Regions from separate parts of the Homo sapiens genome. Here region 2 is linked to region 1. Evidence: promoter capture Hi-C in human tissues and cell types (Jung and others, 2019). All regions are on one chromosome and are shown on one strand. The core of a region is centred on a gene start or on the middle of the fragment in contact, and the rest is flanking DNA. Distances in the headings are between cores, read along the strand shown. Region 1 holds the start of AP2A2 (adaptor related protein complex 2 subunit alpha 2). Region 2 overlaps RIC8A (RIC8 guanine nucleotide exchange factor A).

The links. Contacts are between HindIII fragments. The study calls those that stand out against the background at their distance.
Region 2: a contact is called between a fragment that was not itself captured here and the fragment with the promoter of AP2A2 in region 1, in 2 of the 25 tissues and cell types used here (heart left ventricle and liver).

Annotation. Positions count from the first base shown.
Region 1 is chr11:923,116-928,151 of GRCh38, forward strand. AP2A2 (adaptor related protein complex 2 subunit alpha 2) reads left to right here and starts at 2,755. Exons shown (of 22, transcript NM_012305.4): 1 at 2,755-2,973. The coding sequence starts at 2,907. RefSeq lists a silencer at 2,567-3,106. The HindIII fragment of the contact is 16,179 bases long and covers 1-5,036 here.
Region 2 is chr11:213,219-218,254 of GRCh38, forward strand. RIC8A (RIC8 guanine nucleotide exchange factor A) reads left to right here. Exons shown (of 10, transcript NM_001286134.2): 9 at 81-200; 10 at 1,012-1,895. The coding sequence ends at 1,132. It overlaps SIRT3 (sirtuin 3), which reads right to left. Exons shown (of 7, transcript NM_012239.6): 7 at 1,812-3,500. The coding sequence ends at 3,480. Among named protein-coding and RNA genes, the nearest start is that of MIR6743, 6.4 kb to the left of the region's middle. The HindIII fragment of the contact is 6,100 bases long and covers 1-4,788 here.

The DNA of each region.
Region 1 (5,036 bases), core at 1,505-4,004:
TGGCCAACATGGTGAAACTCCACCTCTGCTAAAAATACAAAAAATTAGCCGGGCGTGATGGTGCGTGCCTGTAATCCCAGCTACTGAGAAGGCTGAGGCAGGAGAATCGCTTGAATCCGGGAGGTGGAGGTTGCAGTGAGCCGAGATCATGCCATTGCACTCCAGCCTGGGCGACAGAGCAAGACTCCATCTCAAGGAAGAAAAAAAAAAAAAAAGAAAGATACTGAGGCTAGGCACAGTGGCTTGTAATCTCAGCACTTTGGGAAGCCAAGGCAGGAGGACTGCTTGAGCCCAGGAGTTCAAGACCAGCCTGGGCAACATAGTGAGACTCCATCTCCACAAAAATCAGAAACTTAGCCAGGTGTGGTGGCGTGCACCTGCAGTCTAAGCACTTTGGGAGCCAAGGCAGGAGGATGGTTTGAGCCCAGAAGGTCGAGGCTGTAGTGATTCATGATTGTACCACTGCACTCCAGCCTGGGAGTCAAAGGGAGAAACCCTGTCTCTAAAATTAAACATAAATAAATAAATAAATAGGCCAGGCATAGTGGCTTGCATCTGTAATCCCAGCACTTTGGGAGACACAGGCAGGCGGAATGCTGGGATTACAGGAGTTCAAGACCGGCCTGGGCACCGTGGTGAAATGCCATCACTACAAAAAATAAAATAAAGAAAAAGAAACTGTTTCCTAGGACTGCGCACTCCCGAAGCTGGCCTCTCCCGAGCCGAGGAGTGGCAGTGGTCAGAGAGGCCCACATGGACTCAGACCCAAGGCTGGGACTGGAGTGAATCATCTGGAGGGCTTGCGTGTCTGCAAGGGCAACGACGCTGGAAGGAGGTGGGAAGTCTTTTGCATGGCTGCATGTCGGGCCTTCTGGGACCCCTAAACACTCTTGTGTGGACGGGAGGATGTCTGTGGGAATCCCAGAGCTGGCACTGAGGAGGAGTCTTCCGAGTGGGCGGAGGGGGATGCCTGCCAGGCCCAAGCCCTCCTGTGGGCAGCCCCTGCAGCACCCCCATTGCCCTGCTCTGTGAGTGGCTGCTGGTGGGGGGGCACAGTGGTCTGCTTGTCTCGGTCTTCTGCACTGCCACTGCCAATGGGAGCTTGGATTAGGCATGCCAGCCTCCTGACGCCCAGAGCCCATGCTCTGCCCACGTGTGTTAGTGGACGGTCCTCGTGACTGCTGGGACTGTCCTGGAGAGCAGCCCAGGACCCCTCACATGGCACAAGATGCTCTTGTGTCCAGAATGGCCTTTATTTGTTGTCAGGGACAGGGGAGGGAAGCTTCTTGGTGGAAGGGAGAGGCTGAAGAATGAACAGCCCCGGGACCACTTTCTCTGCCAGGAGGTGGCACTGGGAGAGGATAGGGACTCCGGAGGGGTGTACCGTCCTCCAGGAAGCCCTCTGCTGGGTCGGCTCCGTGCCTCTGTCTTGGGAAGTGATGGACTTGGTTGCCTTATGCTGACTGGGGTCTGTCACAGATCTTGGTTTTCCCCAGGAGTTCTGGAGGCCCAGAGCCTGGGTGCGGCACCCGGTTCATTGGGGAGGGGCATGGGTCCTGTGCCCTCCTCCTGGCCGGGCTCCACCAGGGCTAAGCTCTCATCTGGGGCTGCGGAAGTGAGCCAGGGTGGGGACAAAGCCCTGGCTGGTGGGTCTGGGCCAGTTCCAGGTACAGGGTCCAGATCCCCCCACTGCAGCAGGAGGGAGCTTCCTGTTCAAAGCCATCTGGCTCTGGGAAGGACAGTGAGGCAGGGCCATCTGCTTCCCCACTCCCTGGGGTCTCTTCCTGGCCGGGACCTGGAGCTGTGCAGCCTGGCCCAGCAGGTCCTCCCTTGCGATGTGTCCACAGGGGTGGGCCTAGGCCTCCAGCTTGCAGTGGTGCAGAGGGCTGGGGAGCAGAGGGGGCCCTGGCAACAGTGGCCAAAAGTCCTGGCGCCGCCGAGGGACTAGATTCCGCAGGGGCTGCCGCCCCCGGCCGCTGTCACTGGGGTGGGGTGGGTGGTTGTTTCTCTGCAGGCCCAGGTGATGTGGAGGGGGCACCTGGGCTGCCACACAGACCCTGGGCTGGGTCGGGCACGGGGCCTGCCTCGCCCCCAGCTCAGGGACCGCAAGAGATGTGGCCCTGGCGGCTCAGGGCGGCAGGAGGGGCGGGCCAGCCCCACCGTCTCAGGATACCGTGCTAGGGGAGGGTTTCCTCGCCAAAGGCCGTCCAGCGGCTGTGACCCCTTCGCCTGGAGCCCCAGCTTCCTCCCGGCGCCGCCCTCCCGCCCCGGCCCCCGCGGAACAAACAAGGCCCTGGCCTCGGAGCTGCCCCGCCGCCCAGCGCTCACAGGTCGTTTATTCCAAGTAAGAAAACGGAGACTGCTCGGGGCAAGCTAGCGGGGCCGAGGCCCAGGACGAGGCCGTACGCGTGTGCCTGCGTGGCCGCCTCTTTTGCAGTGACCACCAACAACGACAGAGGCGGCCCGCTGCACACGCGGGTTCCCGCCCGGACCCACGCCCTTCCCGTGGGGGACGCGGGCGGCATCGCCAGCTTGGCGCGGCCCCGGGACGCGAACGCGTGGCTTCAGCGGCTCCGTCCATGGTGTCCGCCTGCAGGGGGCGCCCCCGCGCCTGCCTCGACCGGCTCGCCCCCGTGCCGCGGACGCGCGCGCGCTGCCTCACGCGACACCCGCCCCGGCCGCCGTCCGTCGTCGCTCGCGTGCGTGCGCGTGCGTGCTGGTGCGGGCGCCGTACGTGCGCGCGCGCGGCGGCCCAGAAAGCGGCGCTGGGACCCTGAGGCGGCCGTGGTTAGGCGGCTCCCCGGCGGCTCCTCCGCGGCGGTGACGGCGACCGCACTCCCCGCTTCCCGCTCCCCGCGCTCCTCCGCCCGGGTCCGCCAGCCGAGGCCGCTCCCGAGCGTCGGAAGATGCCGGCCGTGTCCAAGGGGGACGGGATGCGGGGCCTGGCGGTCTTCATCTCGGATATCCGCAACTGTGAGTGGCGGGGGCGGCGTGGGGCCGGGGCCGGGGCCGCCGGCGGAGACGGGGTCTGGGAGCGGAGGCCCGGGGCGGGGCCTCGAGGCGGGGGTGCAGGCTGGGATGCGGGCGGGGCCCGGGGCCTGAGGGTGCGGGCGGCGCTCGGGGTCTTGGGGTACCGGGTCTGGGGGTGGGGGCCAGGGTGCGGGGTGGGGGTCCAGGGTCTGGGGGTGCGGGCGGCGCTCAGAGTCTTGGGGTATCGGGTATGGGGGTGCGGGTCAGGATGCAGAGCGGGGCCCTGGGTCTGGGGGTGCGGGGTGGGGTGTCCAGGGTCTAGGGGTGCGGGGTCTAGGGGTTTAGGGCACGGCCCTTCATCCACATCTCCACTCCCGTTTGCTGGTCCGTGCGGGGGGCTGCGGCACCACCAAGGGGGTTCCGGGCCAAGACGCCCCTCCCCAGCATGATGTCACCTTGGTCTTTCTAGTACTGGAGCGTTTAACCCAGCGTTTTCCAAAACGGCGTGGATTTTAGCTTTGGGAGCAGAAATCTGGAAATCAGTGTCTTCCCAGGAAACAGCTTTGTGACCTGGGTTCTGGAGGCTTATTAACCCCTGATTAGATCTCACCTACGACGATTAAAATGACTCATTCCCGGAGGGAATCTGGACACGAGCAGCAGTCGGGGTGTGGGATGGCCTCGCTGCCTGCTGCTCCAATCACAGACCTCGTTCTCAGCCCCGTGCCTGTCCCCTCGGGGTGGGAAAAATCCACACCAAACCGTTAAACAAGCCAGGAAGGCTGGGCCTGTTAGAAGGATGTGCAGGGTGGCTGGGTGGGTGCACCGGTCCACCAATTAATTTGACTTTGGTGTGCAGAACCTCCTCTTGGCTTTCAGAGGCCATCTCCTTATTTAATTTGAGGGAGAAACAAAGCCAGTTTCCTGTCTGCTGCGTTGATTTTTTTCCTTGTTATCCAGCAAATAGTTGACTTCATGATTTTTGTTTTTCTTTTTTTTGAGACAGGGTCTTGCTCTGGCTCTCAGGCTGGAGCGCAGTAGTTCCATCACGGCGCACTCAACCTCCCACCTCAAGTGATCCTACCACCTCAGCCTCCGGAGTCACTGGGACTACAAGCGTGCACCACCACCATGCCTGGCTGATTTTCGTGTTTTTTGTAGAGATGGGGGGGTCTCGCCATGTTGCCTAGGCTGGTCTCGAAATCCTGAGCTCAAGTGATCCACCTGTCTTGGCCTCCCAAAGTCCTGGGGTTACTGGCGTGAGCCACGGCACCCTCATAATTTTTAATGTGTATTTTGAGGGACTGTTGTGATCTTCCCTTTGAATTCTCATCTCCTTAGACGGGATGGAGGATCAGGAGGATAGTGGTTCTCCCACACTCTGTGGAAGGGTAGAGGACCATCTAACCCTTCCTGTACTCTGTTAAAAAAAAAAAAAAAAAGCATAGAGCTGGGTGCGGTGGCTCAAACCTATAGTCCCAGCATTTTGGGAGGCTGAGGCAGGTGGATCTTTTGAGCCCAGAAGTTTGAGACCAGCCTGGGCAATGTGGTAACACCCTGTCTCTACAAAAAAATACGAAAATTAGCTGGGCGTATTGGTGTACACATCTATAGTCCCAGCTACTTGGGAGGCTGAGAGAGGAGGATCACTTGACCCCAGGAGGTTAAGGCTGCAGTGAGCTGAGATCGCGCCATACTCCAGCCTGGGTGACAGAGTGAGACCTTTCTCACAAAAAAAAAAAAAAAAAAAAAAAAGGCTTAGAAACACCCTCAGATCAGCACTTTTACGAGTAGCATTTTTTCTCTTTGTTTGTTACATAATGAGACCAACATGCATTTTGTAAAACTAAGTGTGTGTATTATTTCTTAAGGGGACCTCTGGGACAAAGACTGAGTACCCTTAAATGCGCTATGATGTCTGTCCTTCCATTTTTGAAGAAAATTGCGTTAGGCAGGACAATGAGATTGAAAGCCATTTCCTCAGACAGCAAGTCACCCACTTGTCAGATATATTGTCTGTGCCAGGGCCTGCGTTTGACAGGATGGCGCCTACCACAGTGAGTGCG
Region 2 (5,036 bases), core at 489-2,988, 710 kb before region 1:
CCACTGGGAAAATAGGTGGCTTGCCTCCTGTCCTGGAGAGTCACTAATGCATTCCCCACATTCCACCCACTGGGAAACAGCATAAACCCTGTGACCGGGAGGGTGGAGGAGAAGCCGCCTAACCCTATGGAGGGCATGACAGAGGAGCAGAAGGAGCACGAGGCCATGAAGCTGGTGACCATGTTTGACAAGCTCTCCAGGTGTGTGGCATGAGGAGGAGGGGCCTGCAGCTGGGAGAAGGGAGAGCTGACCCACATCCTGTCTTGTGAGCCCCAGGAGGTAGGATCAGAGGAGAGCTTAGGATCCTGGTATTAGGTTGCATTGCTCACGTTTGAAATCACTTGCCCTGGAGGAAATCCCCCAGGGGATGGGTATATTGAGATCAGTATTGTGCCCCTTTTACAGATGATAACTGAGGCCCAGAGAAATTAAGAGACTGTCTAAGGCCGGGCGTGGTAGCTCACGCCTATAATCCCAGCACTTTGGGAGACTGAGGCAGGTAGATCACAAGGTCAGGAGATCGAGACCATCCTGGCCAACATGGTGAAACCCCATCTCTGCTAAAATACAAAAAAAAAGTTAGCTGGGCGTGGTGGTGGGCGCCTGTAGTCCCAGCTGCTCGGGAGGTTGAGGCAGGGGAATCACTTGAACCCAGGAGGCAGAGCTTGCAGTGAGCTGACATTGTGCCACCGCACTCCAGCCTGGCAACAGAGTGAGACTTCGTCTCAAAAAAAAAAAAGAGACTAATGTCGCCAGATTTATTGGAGATGGCCCAGTGTCCAAATTAAGAGCCTGCTTAAGGCCAATTTAGATGTTTAAAATAGGAAACTGCTTAAAGCCAGGAGGCAGCAGTTAGGGTTTGGGCCCAGTTAACAGAAGGTCCAACCAGGCTTCCCCAGTAAATGGGAGCAGCCTACTTGGTAGAGAGGAAGGTAGCAGCCACGGGTGAGTAGGACCCCTGCCTGGCCAACTGGGCCCCTTCCCCAGCCCCACTGCACCTTTCCCCAACAGGAACAGAGTCATCCAGCCAATGGGGATGAGTCCCCGGGGTCATCTTACGTCCCTGCAGGATGCCATGTGCGAGACTATGGAGCAGCAGCTCTCCTCGGACCCTGACTCGGACCCTGACTGAGGATGGCAGCTCTTCTGCTCCCCCATCAGGACTGGTGCTGCTTCCAGAGACTTCCTTGGGGTTGCAACCTGGGGAAGCCACATCCCACTGGATCCACACCCGCCCCCACTTCTCCATCTTAGAAACCCCTTCTCTTGACTCCCGTTCTGTTCATGATTTGCCTCTGGTCCAGTTTCTCATCTCTGGACTGCAACGGTCTTCTTGTGCTAGAACTCAGGCTCAGCCTCGAATTCCACAGACGAAGTACTTTCTTTTGTCTGCGCCAAGAGGAATGTGTTCAGAAGCTGCTGCCTGAGGGCAGGGCCTACCTGGGCACACAGAAGAGCATATGGGAGGGCAGGGGTTTGGGTGTGGGTGCACACAAAGCAAGCACCATCTGGGATTGGCACACTGGCAGAGCCAGTGTGTTGGGGTATGTGCTGCACTTCCCAGGGAGAAAACCTGTCAGAACTTTCCATACGAGTATATCAGAACACACCCTTCCAAGGTATGTATGCTCTGTTGTTCCTGTCCTGTCTTCACTGAGCGCAGGGCTGGAGGCCTCTTAGACATTCTCCTTGGTCCTCGTTCAGCTGCCCACTGTAGTATCCACAGTGCCCGAGTTCTCGCTGGTTTTGGCAATTAAACCTCCTTCCTACTGGTTTAGACTACACTTACAACAAGGAAAATGCCCCTCGTGTGACCATAGATTGAGATTTATACCACATACCACACATAGCCACAGAAACATCATCTTGAAATAAAGAAGAGTTTTGGACAAAAATGTATGTGTAAATTATCAAATAAAGGGGCCAGGCACAGTGGCTCATGCCTGTAATCCCAGCACTTTGGGAGGCCGAGGTGGGTGGATCACTTGAAGCCAGGAGTTCGAGACCAGCCTGGCCAACATAGCAAAACCTTGTCTCTATTACAAATATGCCCATGTGCTAGGTGTGGTGGGACACACCTGTAATCCCAGCTACCCAGGAGAATCGCTTAAACCCGGGAGGCGGAAGTTGCAGTGAGCTGAGATCATAACACCGCACTCCACCCTGAGTGACAGGGCAAGACTCAAAAAATAAAAAAGGAACATTAACTAGGGTTAGAAACTAACTTCATTCTTTTTAGAATTCAACAGTTTTCCTAGGTCACCAATTCCACCTTTTGTTCTTATTAAGGCGCAAAGTCACAGGACCCCCTTCCTGGGAGTCACTGTCATTAAATCTATTGCCGTCAGCTCAGCCCAGGGTAGGCAAGGTTCAAGAATGGGAAGTGCTTTTGTCTGGGGAAACACGCAGGTAATGTGATGCTAGGAAGGAGGATGTGCAGGTGGGTGAGAGCCCAGGAGGGAGCAGCTGGTGCCTGACAGGGTGAGCCATCAGGGCTGGGCCTGGGTACAGCCCCAGGAGAAGGAGCCTGTGCAGAAGTAGCAGTTCAGTGGATTCCACCTCCTATGTCACAATCCAGCAGGTGGCCAGGACTCAGCCTGGGTTTTAAGTGAGTAATGCCTTCCCTGTCTCAGAGATTAGCTCTAACAGTGTCACTAGAGGAAGCCCTGGCGAGGGTGGGGGGGCGTAGTGTGGGGACAAGGAGGCCAGATAGAAAGTGCTGGAATGTTCTGGAACAGATCTGTTTCTGGAGGAGAGGCTGAGTATGGAGAGTCAACAGAATGTGACCACCTTCAGAGGGAGGAGCTGGGCCGTCTCCAATAAATCCAGGGACAAATGCCTTCAGTCCTCAGACTGTTCCAATAGAGGGGACGCCACGTATCCCAGGGTTCCCTTTCCAACTCATGTCAACACCTGCAGTCCCTTTGAGGAGACTAAATGTATTTCATGCTGGAAAGAACAGATTTTCTCTCATTAAAAATAGCCCCACTAAAGGAGACCAACATGCTAGAAGTGCGGCACCAGGGCCTCAAGACTACACTTCGGAACATGAAGAGGGCTGGGGACCGCTCGGCCCAAGTCTGGATCTTGTAACCAACAGATGCCGAGCTTGCCGTTCAACTAGGCACAGAAAGCAGACTCGGTCTGGGATTCCAGTTGGTCTGATTCAGTTCAAGAGGGTCACAGTCAGAAGAAAGCTTTTTCCATTAGGAGCTTCAGCAGAGTGAAGAGTTCAACACAGCAAACAGGCAGGCAGCTCCTTTGTATATGTGACGGGGTGGCCCTGACTGTAAACACAGCCCTACCAGTCACTGCAGCTCATGGCCTGAGAAGACATTCCAGTGGCAGCCTCGGGTGTCCACTCAGTTCACATATTCTGGTTTCACCTGCCCAAGCTGTCTTCAGGCATGAGGTCTTGTCAGAATTGGGATGTGGATGTCTCCTATGTTACCATTTATTGTGTGGGGGCAGCCATCATCCTATTTGTCTGGTCCATCAAGCTGGAATACAGAAGACAGAGGGTATCAGCTATCTGTTTACACACCCAGGCAGGCCAGCAGATCTCTGTTCAAACAGCTCTAGCTGCAGACATGCAAAATATTTCACAAAACAAGCTGCTTTCTGCAAATACTGCTGCTGCTGTGCTGGGCTAAGAGGATCCCAGCAGGCCTGGGCAGAACAGGGTGGCTAAATGGAGAGCCTCATTCTATGGGTCTTAAAGTACCCAAATCAATATGTACTGATGCTCATGTGCTTAAAAGCATTCACTATTTGGAAAAGTAACCCCTTGGATAGTAATGCTGTAAAAAACAGAAAATGAAATCATAACCCATTTTACATACATTTCTCTGAAACTAGATTATACAGTTCAAATCCTATTAAGCCACTTCCAAAACTCCACAGGAGCTACCAGAGTTACAATCTGCTTTTCTATGAAAACAGGAAGTTGGGCCGGGCCTGCTGGCTCATGCCTATAATCCCAGCACTTTGGGAGGCTGAGGCAGGTGGATCACCCGAGGTCAGGAGTTTGAGACCAGCCTGACTAACATGATGAAATCCCATCTCTAATAAAAGTACAGAAATTAGCCAGGCATGGTGGCACATGCCTGTAATCCCAGCTGCTCAGGAGGCTGAGGCAGGAGAATCACTTGAACCCAGGAGGCAGGGCTGCAGTGAGCCAAAATCGTGCCATTGCACTCCAGCTTGGGCAACAAGAGTGAAACTCCATTACAAAAAAAAGAAAATATGAAGTTGGAGCAGGAAAAGGATCCCTCAAAAAAGCCTGCTGGGCTGATCTAAGATCTCCGCTGCCTTGTGAGCTGGCCAGGAGGCACTCGCCTCTCAGCGTTTAAGCCTCATTGTTAGCTGGGTTCCCTGCCTCCATAATGAAGTGACCATGATTGGTAAAAAATCAGCCTGCAACCAGAGGTTGGAGGTCTTGGACTGGTGGAGGTGAGGAGAGTGCTGACCCCATGGCCCTGAGCCATGAGGCAGCCACAGCTGTGGACAAGGAAAAAGGATCAGGATTTCCTAAGACATCTGCCTTGGAAGGCAAGAGGAGCATCAACTGTGATATATTGTAGTTGATATGGTTTGGCTGTGTCCCCACCCAAATCTCACCTTGAATTGTAATCATCCCCATGTGTCAAGGGTGGGGCCAAGTGGAAGTAACTGAATCATGGGGGCGGGTCTTTCCCACACTCTTCTTCTGATAGTGAATAAGTCTCACAAGATCTGATAGTTTTATAAAGGGCAGTTCCCCCGCACACGTCCTCTTGCCTGCCACCTTGTAAGACAGTACTTTGCTCCTGCTTTGCCTTCCACTATGATTGTGAGGCCCCCACAGCCATATGGAACTGTGAGTCCATTAAACCTCTTTCCTTTATAAATTACCCAGTCTCAGGTATGCCTTTATGAGCAGCCAGAGAACAGACTAATACACTGGTGAAATCCCCTTTGGACAGTGTTACACCTGCCTGTAATCATGACACTGGACTTTAAATGCTTAATGCTACCACCTCCCATTGAAAACCCTT